Regions from separate parts of the Homo sapiens genome. Here regions 2, 3, 4 and 5 are each linked to region 1. Evidence: promoter capture Hi-C in 16 types of primary human blood cells and fetal thymus (Javierre and others, 2016). All regions are on one chromosome and are shown on one strand. The core of a region is centred on a gene start or on the middle of the fragment in contact, and the rest is flanking DNA. Distances in the headings are between cores, read along the strand shown. Region 1 holds the start of UBR4 (ubiquitin protein ligase E3 component n-recognin 4). Region 2 overlaps LOC105376819 (a long non-coding RNA gene). Region 3 overlaps CAPZB (capping actin protein of muscle Z-line subunit beta). Region 4 overlaps IFFO2 (intermediate filament family orphan 2). Region 5 overlaps CAPZB (capping actin protein of muscle Z-line subunit beta).

Region 1 (2,778 bases), core at 98-2,597:
TCCTCCAAGACCGGCTTTGACTTGACTGAATTTTATTTCGAATGTAAAGATGCAGGCTGGGCGCAGTGGGTCAAGCCTGTAATCCCAGCACTTTGGGAGTCCAAGGTGGGAGGAACCTAGGACTTCGAAAACAGCTTGGGCTACGTAGGGAGACCTGTCTCTTAAAAACAAACAAAAAAAATTAAGAGTGGTGGCCTGCACCTGTATAGTCTCAGCTACTGGGGAGGCTGAGGCTGGAAGATCACTTGAGCCAGGGAGGTGGAGGCTGCAGCCAGCTGCAACTCTGCCACTGCACTCCAGCCTGGGCTATTGGGCGACAGAGCAAGATCCTGTCTCAAAAAAGGTAAAGTAGGTCATATCTTAATAAAAGTGCAGATTAATCACTAGGTACCAATTCATTTATCAGTGTTACACACCAAGAACAAAAGCTCTTCCTAAACTTAGGGGGAGAATTTCAGGGCTTTAGGAATTTGAAACCGTCTTCACAGTTCCTTCCCAGTCTTATTTAGGCCAGCTGTAGGCCACAGGCTAGAGCTTGAAGCCGTCCACCAATATCTCACTCACAGGACTGTCCTTAATGCACGAATACCTTTCCTCGAGCAAACTGCTTTTCCCTCTTAGACCTTGTAGCCAGATCATTTTACCGGCAAAAGTCTCAGACATCTCCTGTGAATAAAAGCTTACATTCTTTCCTTGCCAGTAGAAAAAAGGGGAACACGTAAGCATACGTGGCAAATTGCAAAGAGGGATGCATTGTACGAGCTGGTCAGATTGTTAATGAGGGCAATCCAAACAGAAGAGATTTGAGTGCTAAGGGAATACGGATCAGTGATTAAAAGGTGTTGTGAGAGGGAGAAATCTTTGTAAACTATGGCGCTCTTTAGTATTACTATTGGGGGGATCTAGGCAGGGGAAGAAGCAGGTGAAAGCGTTTTAGGCTTCGGCCTCCTCTTGTCGTCCTTAGCTGTCCCAGGCCAGGGCCATTCTATACGCCGAGGCGTAGTCAACTCTGCTGCCCTAGACTTGCCCACTGAACCCATGCCCCAGACTCACCTTTACCCGCTGCCCGGAAGCCAAGTCGCTACCACCTGCTTGAGCAACTCCCACCGCGCAGGCTCAGAAGTTAACGCTCTCCCGCCTTTCCCCGCTGCGCTACCTTCTGAGCAGGCGCAGCGTCTCCGATCCGTTCCCTCGCCGCGGCTCGACCCCGGTGAGAGCAAAGGCCGCTCCGCGCGTCGCGTTTTTGACCCATGACGGCGGCGCGCAGTCTGACGCGACAGATTGCGTCACTTCCGCCCCCTCCTGGGAGGCGGCGCTGGGCCGGTGGCAAGCCCCCGGAGGGAGCCGCAGTAGTACGACGGAAGATGGCGACGAGCGGCGGCGAAGAGGCGGCGGCAGCGGCTCCGGCGCCGGGGACCCCGGCAACGGGGGCGGACACGACCCCGGGCTGGGAGGTGGCTGTGCGGCCCCTGCTGTCCGCGTCCTACTCCGCCTTCGAGATGAAGGAGTTGCCGCAGCTGGTGGCCTCAGTCATCGAGAGGTACCGGGCGGCGGCTCTGGCGGGCGACGCTGTTGTGGGGGGAGGGGATTTCGAGCCGGATCGTCTGGACCCGCTTTCCGGGCCGCCCCCTGCCCCCTTGAGGATCCCCGCCACAGCCACGGCTTCGGGGTCCCGGGCCCGGGGAGACTGGCTTGCCTGGGTTTCCCTCCGCCAACGCATGTAAATCACCTCTACCTCAGTTTCCCCTCTCGAGCAAAACTTTAGCGGCCTCCCTGCGGGAGGGCGTGGCCGGACATGGTTGAGAGTGAGATGCATTCGCCCTCTTAAGGGAATGTTCACGGGGCTGCCCCTTGGGTCAAGTCACAGATGAGTTTGCATTTCTCGCCCGCACTCATCCTCCTAGCCTGGGCCGGAGCGGAGCCGTACGGTATAATTTAATAACGGTCTCCCCGCGGTGCTGTAATCAGTGGGGGCACGTGCTATTTCTGTGACTGAAGCCACTAGCTACATTGATGACCTCTTTTTACGTTGCACTCCTTGTGCATTCCTACTGTATCGGTCTTTGATTAAAAACATTTCAGTGTGTGTCTGAGAGATCATTTTCCCAGAGGATGTGTGGTGTGTGTGTTCTCTTGCTGCCTCCCATCCCCCTCGCATTAAAATATCATCACATTCTTTTACAAACGGTACTATCTGTTGGTTTCCTTTTGTGTGTTTTTGTCTTTTTGCACAGCGATTCTTAGCTAGTGACAGTTATGTAGGTACAAAGATGGTGATCTCAGAGTGCCTGCCTTTTCCTGACATACTGTGCTCAGAGCAGTCTTTCATTAGTTTAATGGTAGACTTTTGCTTTTAAAGCCAGACTGACTTTCATTTTTCTAGCCATACCTCATTTCAGCAACTCCCTGCAATTGTTAACTGGGTCATTTTAGCTTCACGATGACAAGGGTATATCTAGCTGCTATCCAGAGGTTAAAAATTGCTATTTGTTACTCAAAGGAGGCCCACGGTTTGACAAATTGTTTTTGTGCTTTTTCTTGTTGTAGACTTGTAATCCTTTGGATGCAGAGTTTTTAACAAATTATAATAAAATAATGGTTGAGTTTGGTAACTTCACAGTCAGCTTTACAGACGGATTTTGCTATCTAATCATCAGGCCAGGAATGTTCTGAAGATGTAAACAGGTTTCAAATATACTACTTTCAAATTACGTGGCTGCTTTTTGTTTTAAACATTTGGATTGGCAGTATTTTTCCTGACTCATACTCATGTTACGT
Region 2 (2,778 bases), core at 143-2,642, 300 kb before region 1:
CATGATCTTGGACTTGCCAGCCTCCAGAACGGTGAGAAGTAAATTTCTGCTGTTTATAAAATGCTCAGTCCATGGTAGTTTGTTATAACAGCCCAAATAGACCAACACACCTGCTGGATGCTAGAAGTGGTTCTAGGTGCTTGGGATTCAGCAATGAACATCATAAAGCACCCTCAAAGAGGATACATTTTTGCATGCAAAGACTGAAAGATCAGCAACAAAGAAATATAAAATAAGACAAGGTAAGTGGGGAGTGCAATTTTTTGTCCAATGGTCAGAGAAGTAGGTTGTGCTCACCACTGTGACAAGATGGAAGCTGTGCTCACCACTTGCATTACAGTGTACAAGAATGTAATCTCCATAAGGACAGGGCCCTGGAATCTTGTTTCCCTTACAGCTCCAGTCCCTAGCACAAATTCTGGTTTCTAGTAGGTGCTCAATAAATATTTGTTGAATGAATGAACAAATAGCCTCAGTCTCAGATCTGCCGGAGAAATGTCCATTTTAGGGTAGGCATGGGATTTTGAATTCACCTCCTATGAGCTGACATTTATGGAGAAACTTGCGTGCCCCAGGCACTGTGCCAGCCTCCATGGCTGAGTACAGCCCTTCCCTTGAGCATCTTCATTGGAGAAGATAGCGGCGCTTGCAATTTAGTGGTCTAGAAGAGAAGGCAGCAAAGAGAATAAAGGAAGAACAGGAGTTAAGTGCAAAGAGGAAGCGTTTCAGGGTCAGCAAAGAATTCGGCAAGTGTATTGCCTGACATCTTTTTCTTGATGCAAAAAATAGCTAGTTCTGCTTTTTGGACTGGGGCTCGCTGAGTCAGGGGTTCAAAGAGAATAGCATGAGGATAGGAGCAGTAAATGTCATCTGCAGCAGATGGTGATGCCCCAGAGACAGACCGTGGCCTTGAAGATGCTTCCCTCCACCGACTCTGGCCCAAGAATCAAGGTCAAGGGCAGGCAACCGAGCTCAGCAACCTGGGGTCCCGATCCCAGCCTCTCAACTGGGCCAACCCTACCCAAGAACATCACCGTTGTTCCACCCGCTTGGACTCCACACCAGGCTCAGTGGAGTCTCAGAGTCCATGGGTGTGAGAAGAATAATTCCAGCATCTGTTATTAACCATCATTTCCATTGTTTTGGCTTCACTTTCTCTTTGGCCCTGAGAACACTGGGTCAGTGCTTCTTTGAGCACAAAACGACTGATTTGCCAGGTCTTTGTTCAGCCTCACAAAAGAAGGGGATGATTATTACAAGAACAGATTTTGCATTCCATATTTACCCCAGATGACACTGCCTTGATCCCTAAAATAACTCCAGATCGCCTGGGTGGAACTTGCTTGTTCCTTTTCATCTTGCTATTTTGCAATTGTTTATGGAGAACATCACCATAGTGATATTATCAGAGCAGGGCAGAATGAAACTCCAAACTCTGGGTTGTTATTGGTTTTTCCTTTGTACCTCGGAACATGACTTTTTCACCTCAAACCTTCTCTATTATTTCTTATAAGCATTACAGTTCTCAGTTCCAACTCAGCCAGCATCACTTTCTGACTCATCCCCAGCAGTTAAAACCACAGAGGTGGTCCACACTGGGATGAGGGATGGAAGTGCTTGGGTTGAGTTTCCAAATTGGAAACTATTTACCAGAAATCCTCTTTCCTTCAGATAAGACTGGGGTCAAAGTACTAGAGTGTTGAAAGAGGCACTAAATAAACTAAGAATCTAAAGGACCTTCAGTGTTTGGGCCAAGGAACATGGTGATAGAGTTCAACAAATAAACACAGCTGGCGTAGGGTGAGCCTTTAGCAAACACTTATCTTCTTGATTTTGTTTTTTTTTTTTTTTTTTTTTGCTCATAATTGTCAACTTGGCCCAAAGCCTTTATTATAGCATTCTCATACACTGCTGCCAGTGGTGTGTATTTGTACAACTTTTTAATGAAATTTGGCAATGAATAGCAAAAGTCTTGACAATGTAGCTCTTCCTTAGATGCAAAATTCTACTTGTGAGTGCTAAAAAAATAATTAGGGATATGAGCAGAAGGATACATACAAAGATGTTTATTGCTATTGATGGTGAAAAACTGGAAACAACCAAACTGTACAACATTAGGGGGTTACTTAAAAAAAATCAAAATACAGGACTGGCGCAGTGGCTCATGCCTATAATCCCAGCACTTTGGGAGGCTGAGGTGGGAGGAGCACTTGAACCTAGCAGTTTGAGACCAGCTTAGGCAACACAGTGGGACGCTGTCTCTACAAACAATTTTTAAAAAGTAAAACAACAAAAAAAATCATGACCCCCACTCCATGCAATGGATACTGAGCCACTATTAAAAATTATGCCGGTTGGGCGCGGTGGCTCATGCCTGTAATCCCAGCACTTTTGGAGGCCAAGGCTGGCAGATCACTTGAGATCAGGAGTTCGAGACTAGCCTGGCCAACATGGTGAAACTCTGTCTCTACTAAAAATACAAAAATTAGCCAGGTACAGGGGTGGGCATCTGTAATCCCAGCTACTTGGGGGGCTGCGGCAGGGGAATCGCTTGAACCCAGGAGGTAGAGGTTGCAATGAGCCGAAATCACACCACTGCACTCCAGCCTGGGTGATAAAGCGAGACTCCATCTCAAGAAAAAAAAAGACCAGGCGCGGTGGCTCATGCCTGCAATCCCAGCACTTTGGGAGGCCGAGGTGGGCAGATCGCAAGGTCAGGAGTTCGAGACCAGCCTGGCCAATATGGTGAAACCCCGTCTCTACTAAAAATACAAAAAT
Region 3 (2,778 bases), core at 193-2,692, 270 kb before region 1:
GGCTAGACCCTCCCTCCCGAACCGTGTCCCCAGCCAGGCACCCCCTCGGTGACCCTGGCGTGGGCCCCCTTCCTCCCCCGGTCTAGGGCTAGGTCTGCTTTCCCCCGTCTCTCCGGCCCAGGCTAGGCCGTCGTTTCTCCCTGCCATGGCCCAGGCTAGGCCGCTGCCTCCCTCTGTCCCTCCCCCTTTGCCTTCTCCATGGCCTCAGGCTGGACCCCGGTCAGCCCCTTCTGCAGCGGCCTAGGTTTGCTTCCCCTCTTCTCCGTGGCCTCAGCCTGAATCTCCTCTTCTCTCTGTGAACTTAAATCTGGACCTCCTCTTCTCCGCCCATGGCCCCCGTCTGGACCTCACTGCCCCCTCCCCACCATGATCCCCTTCCCTGGACTTTTCGCCACTCCTAGCGTAACCTGCGTCAGCCCCGCTCGGTCCCCGCCCTGAGCCTCTCATCAGGGTCCTGCCCCCTGCCTGGTGCACGACCCAGGGTCCCCTTCCCTGTACCTGGGGCGCGCCTTCTTTGCAGCCTTTGGGGAGCGAGGGGAGCTCTCCATCAGGGATGGGGTGGTCCCGGTGCTGTGCCTTCTCAGTTGCCGCTTCTAGGGAGGCCGCCTAGGAGCCAGCGAGGGAAGGGCGGGCATCGGTGTGCCCAGAAGGCAGCGCGCTGCTCTGCGGGCCCTTCTCGAGGCTGCCGCCGTGGGTGCTGTGCGTGCGAAGCATTCTGCAGGGCAGGCCGGGGTCCACGGCGCCCGGGCCTGAGTGGGAGCCGAGGGGCGAGGATGGGTGGCCCACAGGACAAGGATGAACGCACAATCGCCCTTGTGAGGCCGTGGCCTTGGGGGGCCACCAGGCCCTGGATCCAGCATATGGCCTGGACACGATGCACCCAAGCAGGCGCAGCCTCCCCTTCCCTCTGAACTGTCAGCTTGCAAGGGTTGGAACTGCTGATTATGGAAGTCCCTCGGATCAGGTGAGCAGAACGCCTAGGGAGAGTGCTGGCTCCGCTCGTGGTGTTTGTTTTGGTAAAGAAGGCAGATGCTATCCAGACTTTTGAGGAACCTGGGGTTTCACATAGGCCCCCACAGATAGACCTGCCCTCCTGCCACTTGACCCTTCTGCAGGACAGGCCCAGCACTTAGGTTGGAAGGGCCAGAGAACTTCTTCCTGACAGGATCAAGGGATTTTTGGAGCATGTTTGTATGTGGACTTTGGGCCTCAAAGTGTTTTGAGGACCATGGTTCCTTGTTTAGTCAAGGGATGTTGCTGCTGAACGAGGGTGAGTAGTTGAGATGGGTTAAGCTTTCTTTTGATGCCTTCCTGTATGCTGATTAAAAACATGGGCAATGCCACTTTTAAGGCCTTCGGATTTGTCCAGTAACTTTGGCTGAAAACTCCTTGTTTGGGGAGGTGGGCCTGGCCCCAGGCCTTGATGGAGAACGACTTCTCCAGGGCAGTGGTGGGTGAGGACTTTGAAAGTGGGCTGAAGTTTCCTGAGTGTGCACTCAGGACAAAGTATAAGGCAGGAAGCAGCGATTCTCGCCAGGTGATGGGAAAGTGCCTCAGTCCCCCAGGAGGAGCACATGACACCTGAAGCTTCTCAGGAGTCTTGTACTCAGCTCTCATCTGAAAAGGCTGGAAAGGGTGGAGGAACTGTCTGCCAGTCACTGTGGTGTGCTTCACCTGTACAAGCTGTTTTCATCCACAGGAAGCCCTTCTGGGGCTGTCCCCATTTTATAGATGAGGCAGCTGAGGCTCAGGAGGTGGAGTGACTTATTCAGGGTGTTGCTCAGCCAGTGGAGGAACCACTGTTGGTCAGTGGAAGCCCATCTGGCAGGCTCTAAACTGTTCTTCCCATTGTACCAAGCTGCTTGTATGTCAGAAGGTTTAATGATACCGTTTGAAAAACATAAAATGGGATATTCAAACATGGCAAGGGGGGAGGAGCAGTATTTATTGCCCATGTATTGTATTTTAGATCCTTTGTATAGGAAATCATGTTTATAGTGAAATAGCTGTATGGTGATACAGGCATATTTAGCATGGGCCAGAATGAGCTCTTGGAGGGCAGAGATTTGTGTCTTGTGTTTTCCGCAGCTGTATCCGTGGGGCCTAGAACAGCACCTGGCGTTGGAAGAAACCACTTGGAATGTTCTCTTTGGCATGTGTCTGTGTCCATGAACTTACCTGCTTGGATTTCATATTCATTCTCTCAGTCACTTGTTCTTAGTATCCCTTAGCCTTGTAATTTCTGACTGCTTATTGTTACGTTTATCCCCTATTTGAATACTCTGACCATTAAGCCGGTGTAGATGGTTGGCGTAGGACAGAAGTGGTGGTGTGAGGTTGCATTGTAGGTAAATGAATTCAGATCACCATGTTTTTCATTTTCAGTAGATTTGATGGTAGAGAATACAGCTAGATCTCTGTTATCCATTGAGGGAAATAGTGACTTGAGAATCTAAAATGCATTTGACTTTGGAATGAATTCCATGATTTTTGTTGGCATGAGTTTCTCCTTCCCAGTTAAAATGCATAGGCAAATGGAATTTATTTGCATTCCCTTAGCAGGTAATAATCTTACCACTGTCTGAGTGCTGTACAATTTCAGAGCACCGTTCCTTACACAGCTTCAGTTTCTGACTTGGGAATTATTCTTAGTTATGATGATGGTGAGGCTTTAGCAGGAACGGGGACTAGGGAGGCCCCCTCAGGAATTGCTGCTCCAGCTCACAGATGGTTTTGCCTGGCAGGAGCTGATGGGAACTTGGTATTGTTACAAGGTGA
Region 4 (2,778 bases), core at 161-2,660, 270 kb after region 1:
ACCTTGAGGTCACGCAACAGAGCAGGGGCCGGAACCCAGGTATTTTCACCCTGTCCCCTCCACAGGACTCCCCTTAAACCCTTGAGCTCAGGGCTCCCTCTGGGGGCTGCTGGCACTTTCAGGAGGGGTTTGGAAAACTCCCAGAGGACAGAGCACTTGGAGCAGAGAAGCAACTGCCAAAGGCATGACTCGGAGCCTGTACAGTGGGGTCCGCAGAGACAGGGCCCTGCTCCTTGACCAGACATCTGGGTCCCTGGCGCTGTGGATGAAGCTCCCTCCACCTACAAAAGAGACATCTGAGGTTGCCCGTGGGGTTTGTCTCCATGTCGCAAAAGGCACTTCTCCAGCCTCTGGCCTGGTTTTGAGGTCTTGGGATGCTGACACTGATCTGCCTTCCCGATCTGCCAGCCCTGTGCTTGGCTGCACCATTTCTCTGTGCCTCGTTTTCCTTTTGTATGGGATGGGATGGGATGATGATACCCACAGGGTGTTGGTGAGCCTGATTCAGGAAAGGCTGCCCTGTCTCCTTATCTCTGGGTTAAGCCCTGGAGCTGGAAGTCTTGAGAACTTTGCCTAGAATGTTGGAGTTGGGTGAACCGTAGAGGCTGATCTTTCATTCCCCATAAAGACCATGTTTCCAGGGCTCCTTGTCTGGGCATGTGGCCTGACAAATAGTACTTTGGGATTTGCACATGTTTTTATATGGAAAGACATTTTTTTTAAGACAGGGTCTTGCTCTGTTGCCCTGCCTGGAGTGCTGTTGAATAGTCACTGCTTGCTGCATCCTTCAACTCCTTAGGCACAAGCAATCCTCCTGCCTCAGCCTCCCGAGGAGCTAGGACTTCAGACACACACCACTACACCCAGCTAATTTTTTTTTAAAAAAAATAATTTTTGTTGAGATAGGGGTCTCGCTATGTTGCCGGGGCTGGTCTTGAACTCCTGGCCTCAAGTGATCCTCCTGCCTTGGCCTCCCAAAGTACTGGGCTTACAGATGTGAGCCACCATGGCTGGCTGAGTCTTAATATTACATTGCTGTTGGTTTCACACTTACCTTTAAATAAAATATTAGCATTTAAAACATCAGGACTTAAATTTGCCGGGTGTGGTGGCACGAGCCTGTAATCCCAGCTACTTGGGAGGCAGAGGCAGGAGAATGGCTTGAACCCGCAAGGTGGAGGTTGCAGTGAGCCAAGATCTTGCCACTGCACTCCAGCCTAGGCGACAGAATGAGACTCCATCTCAAAAAAAAAAAAAAAAGAAATAATATAAAATAAAACATCAGGACTTATCTGACTTGGAGACTGATGGCCTGAACTCAGCAAGCTACTGCTGGCAGAGCCAGAATTAACCTGATGCCAAGTTGAGGGACCTCCAACTTGTAGGTTATTCCTTTTCTGAGCCCTAAGACATAATTCAATTGTGGGGAATTAAAAAGAAATTGCTTCATTTGCTCTTGCTTCATGTTTCCTGTTGGCCCGTGATTTGGGCCTTCTCTTGGGTGGGAACTCTGGCTCTGAGGTGACACTGCTTGGAGTTGTGTTACTGCTCTGAGCCTCAGTTCTCTCATCTGTAAAATGGGGATGACAATCTTAGCTGATGAGGTTGCGAGGATTTGATGTTGCCTGCAGAGTGCTACGTGTGCTGCTGGCCCCTCAGCTGTTACCGCTCCCTCCCTCCTGCCCTGGCCTGGCTCCCACCAGCCCCCAGGCCCCAATTTGTACACATAAAAATGTGAACAAATGCCAAAGTACTATTTGTCAGGCCACATCCCCAGACAAGGAGCTCTGGAAACATAGTCTTTGTGGGGGAATGAAGGATCAGCCTCTATGGTTCACCCAACTCCAACATTCTAGGCAAAGTTCTCAAGCCTTCCAGCTCCAGGGCTTACCCCGGAGATAAGGAGACAGGGCAGCCTTTCCTGGGTCAGGCTCACCAACACCCTGTGGTTCTCATCATCCCATCCCATCTCATACAAAAGGAAAACGCGGCACAGTGAGAACTGCCTGCTCCCTCCCGCTTTGGCTGAAGACTGGCCTTTTGTGTTCTGAGCACTTCCTCTCCCCGGTAGAGCCGCCTGGGCAGCCAGGAGGAGGTCATGTCCCCTCTCTTCTCGAGCAGACTGTCAGCACAGGGTGACTGGGAAGGCAAGACCTGGCATTCAAGGCTGTGTCCAGTGCAGGGTGTCACCTGGAGCCTGTGGCTCCTAGGAGGGCCTGATGGAATGTGGACATGAATGGGGGAATCTTTCCCTGTCCCCGCCTCCCTGGGGATCATGGACTGTCTCAGCCTCCCCGTTGTGTGGATTTGGAAGCAGCCTCAGGGGGTCACATTGCTGGTCTGAGGTCTCACTATGAGGTAGGGCCAGGATCAGGATTCGAACCTGCCTCTTGCAGACTGTTACCCAAAGTACTCTCTGCCACACATGCAAGCTCATTCTGGCAGGCTGAGATAGGGGAATTGGAAGACAGGGGTTCAAGCCCTGCCCTGCACCCAGCAGCAGCAAGGCAGCCGTTCCTCCTTCTGGGCCCCTGTAGGCGATGGGTAGATGGTTTCTGTGTTTTCATAGACTGCCTTGCGAGGCCTTGTGGGTGAAGGGCCCAATCCCAGACCTTGGCAGAGGAGTGACGTTGAAGGCTGGCTTGGCATTGTTTTTCCAGAGTTGACGTCAGGGCAGCTGGTTTAGGGTTTCATCTGTGAGACAAAGGCTGCTTTGTAGCTTCTGCCCGGTTTAAGTCCAAGCACATCACCCCCCAAGGTGGGAAACGAGGTGGAAGG
Region 5 (2,778 bases), core at 164-2,663, 260 kb before region 1:
CATGGCAGGCAGAGAGACGGCGTGTGCCGACTCAGTGGCCCAGGAGGGCATGGCGGGTGCTGGGGAAATGACTAATTTAAACTCAGAGGAGCCAGAAGAGTGAGGGGTGGGAGAGCTTTCAAAGCAGCTGGGTGGGAGGCAGGGCCATGCTGAGAAGGAAGTCCTGGGTGGAAGGAGGCTCTGATTTACCCTCTTCTATTTCAGTACACTCTCCTGCCCTGCCCTGCTCTGCCCTGCCCTGCTCCGCCCCACCCTGCCGCACAGCTGATACCTCAGAGTTTATCATTGACTTCCTTTTCACGACTCCACCCCCAACCCCTGTGTATCATCATTCCCTGAGCGCCTCCTATGTTCCAGGCCTTGGGGACCCCGAGCTAGTGAAAGGCCCACAGGCTAGTGGAGGGGAGTGGATGGCGCTTGGTTGAGTGTGAGCACCAGTGGCAAGGGACCCCTCTCCCCATCAGGAGGGAGCCCTTTGTAACCTGATAGTATCATTAAATAAAAGTTTATTGTGTTTTTTTGTTTTGTTATAAAAGCAGTATGTTTATTATGGAAAAGTTTGAAAATATAGAAAAGAGGGAAGAAACAAAAATAATTCATAATCTTAGCTTGCCAGCAGCACTGTTAACCTTTCAATATATTGTTTCAGCGTCTTAGTCTATATGCATAGTTTGGAGTTCATATTGTCAGTGCCTAGCCCCCTTTTTTAGGAGGCGGGGTCTCACTCTGTCACCCAGGCTGGAGTGCAGTGGCTCAATCATAGCTCACAGCAGCCTTGGACTCCTGAGCTCAAGGGATCCTCCTGCCTCAGCCTCTCAAAGTGTTGGGATTACAGGCGTGAGCCACTGCGCCTGGCTGAGGGCTGCATTCTTAGGCCCTGCAGGGGTGGAATGGGCACAGCTCTTGAGAGCTCTGCGGCCCTGCAGTGTTTTCAAGCTCTAGTTCCCAGCATCTGATGCTGGTGTGGAAACGATGTCGGGGAAGCATAATGAGGTGTTATGTGAACCCAAATTGTGCTTTAAACCAAAACAGCCCTGGTCATTTGGGCTTTTGTGAATGGGGAGGCTTTCGGGGGCCCTCTGGCCTCTCTGCACTGGGAAGCATGCAGCAGATGGAAGAGAATTTAATGGGGACACCTGAATCACTCAGGCAAGAAAATGGATTAAATATCTGAGCTGATACCTGTCCCACATACTGGGATAGAGGGAGGCCATTCTGATAGTAGTCTCAGGGCGGGTGTTAAAGGGCCATTTGCTCCCTGTGATTGGGCTGATACACAGTGTTTGGACCTTTGGACCTTAGCACGTTTGGGGTGAGAAGAGCGGTGACTTAGGCTAGATAAGTTTGTAGGGAGAATGAGTGTGGCACATCCGTGTCCTCTGCTGTGGGGGCCTCACTCCTCAGCGCAAGAGCTGAGCCGCTGGAGGGGACTGTTCCTCTCTTTGCCTCCCTTCTCCCTTCTGTTTGCTTTATCTTTCCTTTTATTCCTTCTTGCTTTAGCCTGCTGCACTGCAGGAATGAGCCCAGTGTGGCTGTCTACCAGCACAATGTTTGCTGGATTTGTATGCTACTTTTATTATTATTTATTTGAGGCTTTCCTTAAAATTGGCTTGAGGGCTGGGCACAGTGCCCGTAGTTGCCAGGCATGGTGGATCTCAGCACTTCGGGAGGCCAAGGTGGGAGGATCACTTGGGACCAGCCTAGGCAACATAGTGAGACCCAATCTCTACAAAATAAATAAATAAATAAATAAAAGCTGGGTGTGATGGTGCATCTGGAGTCCCAGCTACTTGGGAGGCTGAGGCGGGAGGATCCCTGGAGCTTGTGTGTTAGGATTTTTCCTATGAATAACTCCTGCATTCCAGCCTGGGTGACAGAACAACACCCTCTCTCAAAAACAAAAACAAAAAACTTTGGCCTGAGCCTAACACCGCTATCTAGCCTCTTCGTAAGCAGAAACATCTACAAAATCATGTTTGATGTGCTAGTTATATTTTTCCTATGAATATTAAATATAGGTAATTATTAAACTGCATTCATCCATATGCTCTCTAAAACCTCCCTTAAACCCCATTGGCCTGCACAGCATGCCATGGGAAATGCTGCAGGCGTGAAAAGAGCACTGTACCAGGAGTCTGGAGCGTGACTTGGGACTGCATCCTGGCCTCTGATGTGCTGGGTGATGTTGAACTATTCCCGATCCCCCATGCCTCTTTTTCTTCTTTGCATATCAGACCATGTGAGCACCAGGGTCCCTCCAGGCTCACACGTTTTGAGTGACTGCAGGATGCCATTCAGTGGTACCTCGAGGTTACTCAGCCCCTCTCACATCACCTGCGCCGTGAGGAAGCTCAGGACTCTGACCTAGACATGTGATCTATGAGCTCAAAAGATTGAAAAACGTTGCAGCTCAGGAACATTTTGTCTTCACGTGTGCTGCTTGTTTTTGTTTGGGTTTCAGCTCTCACTGTTTATTAGCCAAGGAAGCAGCCTGGTCTAGTGCAAAGAGTAAGGGCTTTGGAGCTAGGCAGGACCTTGAATAGCTCCATGCATCTGGCTCTGCCTCCCCAGTGTGGGAGTGAAAGACCCTCCTGGCGGAGCTGTGGAGCTGGTGGAGTAGGCCAGGAGCACAGATTCACCTCTGAGTCTGATCCTCCACCCACCACACCTCAGCCTAAGTGCGTGCAGTGATTAGTGTCGCCTCTGTCCCAATAAAAGGGTTGTCCTTGGTCATGGATGGTAGCTGGGCTCCTGGGGCCAGACTGCCTGGGTTTAAAT

What was found. Contacts are between HindIII fragments. The CHiCAGO score rates a contact against its expected background, and 5 or more counts as called.
Region 2: a contact is called between a fragment that was not itself captured here and the fragment with the promoter of UBR4 in region 1, in 1 of 17 cell types (neutrophils). The highest score is 6.4, in neutrophils.
Region 3: a fragment that was not itself captured here is called in contact with the fragment with the promoter of UBR4 in region 1 in 11 of 17 cell types (fetal thymus, megakaryocytes, total B cells and 8 more); the score reaches 9.2 in fetal thymus.
Region 4: a fragment that was not itself captured here is called in contact with the fragment with the promoter of UBR4 in region 1 in 2 of 17 cell types (megakaryocytes and fetal thymus); the score reaches 6.5 in megakaryocytes.
Region 5: a contact is called between a fragment that was not itself captured here and the fragment with the promoter of UBR4 in region 1, in 6 of 17 cell types (neutrophils, naive CD8 T cells, megakaryocytes and 3 more). The highest score is 8.4, in neutrophils.

The regions. Positions count from the first base shown.
Region 1 is chr1:19,208,835-19,211,612 of GRCh38, reverse strand. UBR4 (ubiquitin protein ligase E3 component n-recognin 4) reads left to right here and starts at 1,347. Exons shown (of 106, transcript NM_020765.3): 1 at 1,347-1,540. The coding sequence starts at 1,365. EMC1-AS1 (EMC1 antisense RNA 1) reads right to left here and starts at 1,227. Exons shown (of 2, transcript NR_135114.1): 1 at 1,054-1,227. RefSeq lists silencers at 263-332, 1,358-1,677 and enhancers at 958-1,007, 1,258-1,307. The HindIII fragment of the contact is 5,774 bases long and covers 682-2,778 here.
Region 2 is chr1:19,503,938-19,506,715 of GRCh38, reverse strand. The region is part of intron 1 of LOC105376819 (a long non-coding RNA gene); the gene reads right to left. Among named protein-coding and RNA genes, the nearest start is that of CAPZB, 20 kb to the right of the region's middle. The HindIII fragment of the contact is 4,630 bases long and covers 1-2,778 here.
Region 3 is chr1:19,482,376-19,485,153 of GRCh38, reverse strand. The region is part of intron 1 of CAPZB (capping actin protein of muscle Z-line subunit beta); the gene reads left to right. It also overlaps a transcript of LOC105376819 not described here. Among named protein-coding and RNA genes, the nearest start is that of CAPZB, 1.8 kb to the left of the region's middle. RefSeq lists enhancers at 1-321, 322-829, 830-1,338. The HindIII fragment of the contact is 294 bases long and covers 1,296-1,589 here.
Region 4 is chr1:18,941,323-18,944,100 of GRCh38, reverse strand. The region is part of intron 1 of IFFO2 (intermediate filament family orphan 2); the gene reads left to right. Among named protein-coding and RNA genes, the nearest start is that of IFFO2, 14 kb to the left of the region's middle. RefSeq lists enhancers at 1,701-2,218, 2,512-2,778, 2,532-2,778 and a silencer at 2,532-2,778. The HindIII fragment of the contact is 5,184 bases long and covers 1-2,778 here.
Region 5 is chr1:19,466,035-19,468,812 of GRCh38, reverse strand. The region is part of intron 1 of CAPZB (capping actin protein of muscle Z-line subunit beta); the gene reads left to right. Among named protein-coding and RNA genes, the nearest start is that of CAPZB, 18 kb to the left of the region's middle. RefSeq lists a silencer at 366-415 and an enhancer at 144-438. The HindIII fragment of the contact is 3,479 bases long and covers 1-2,778 here.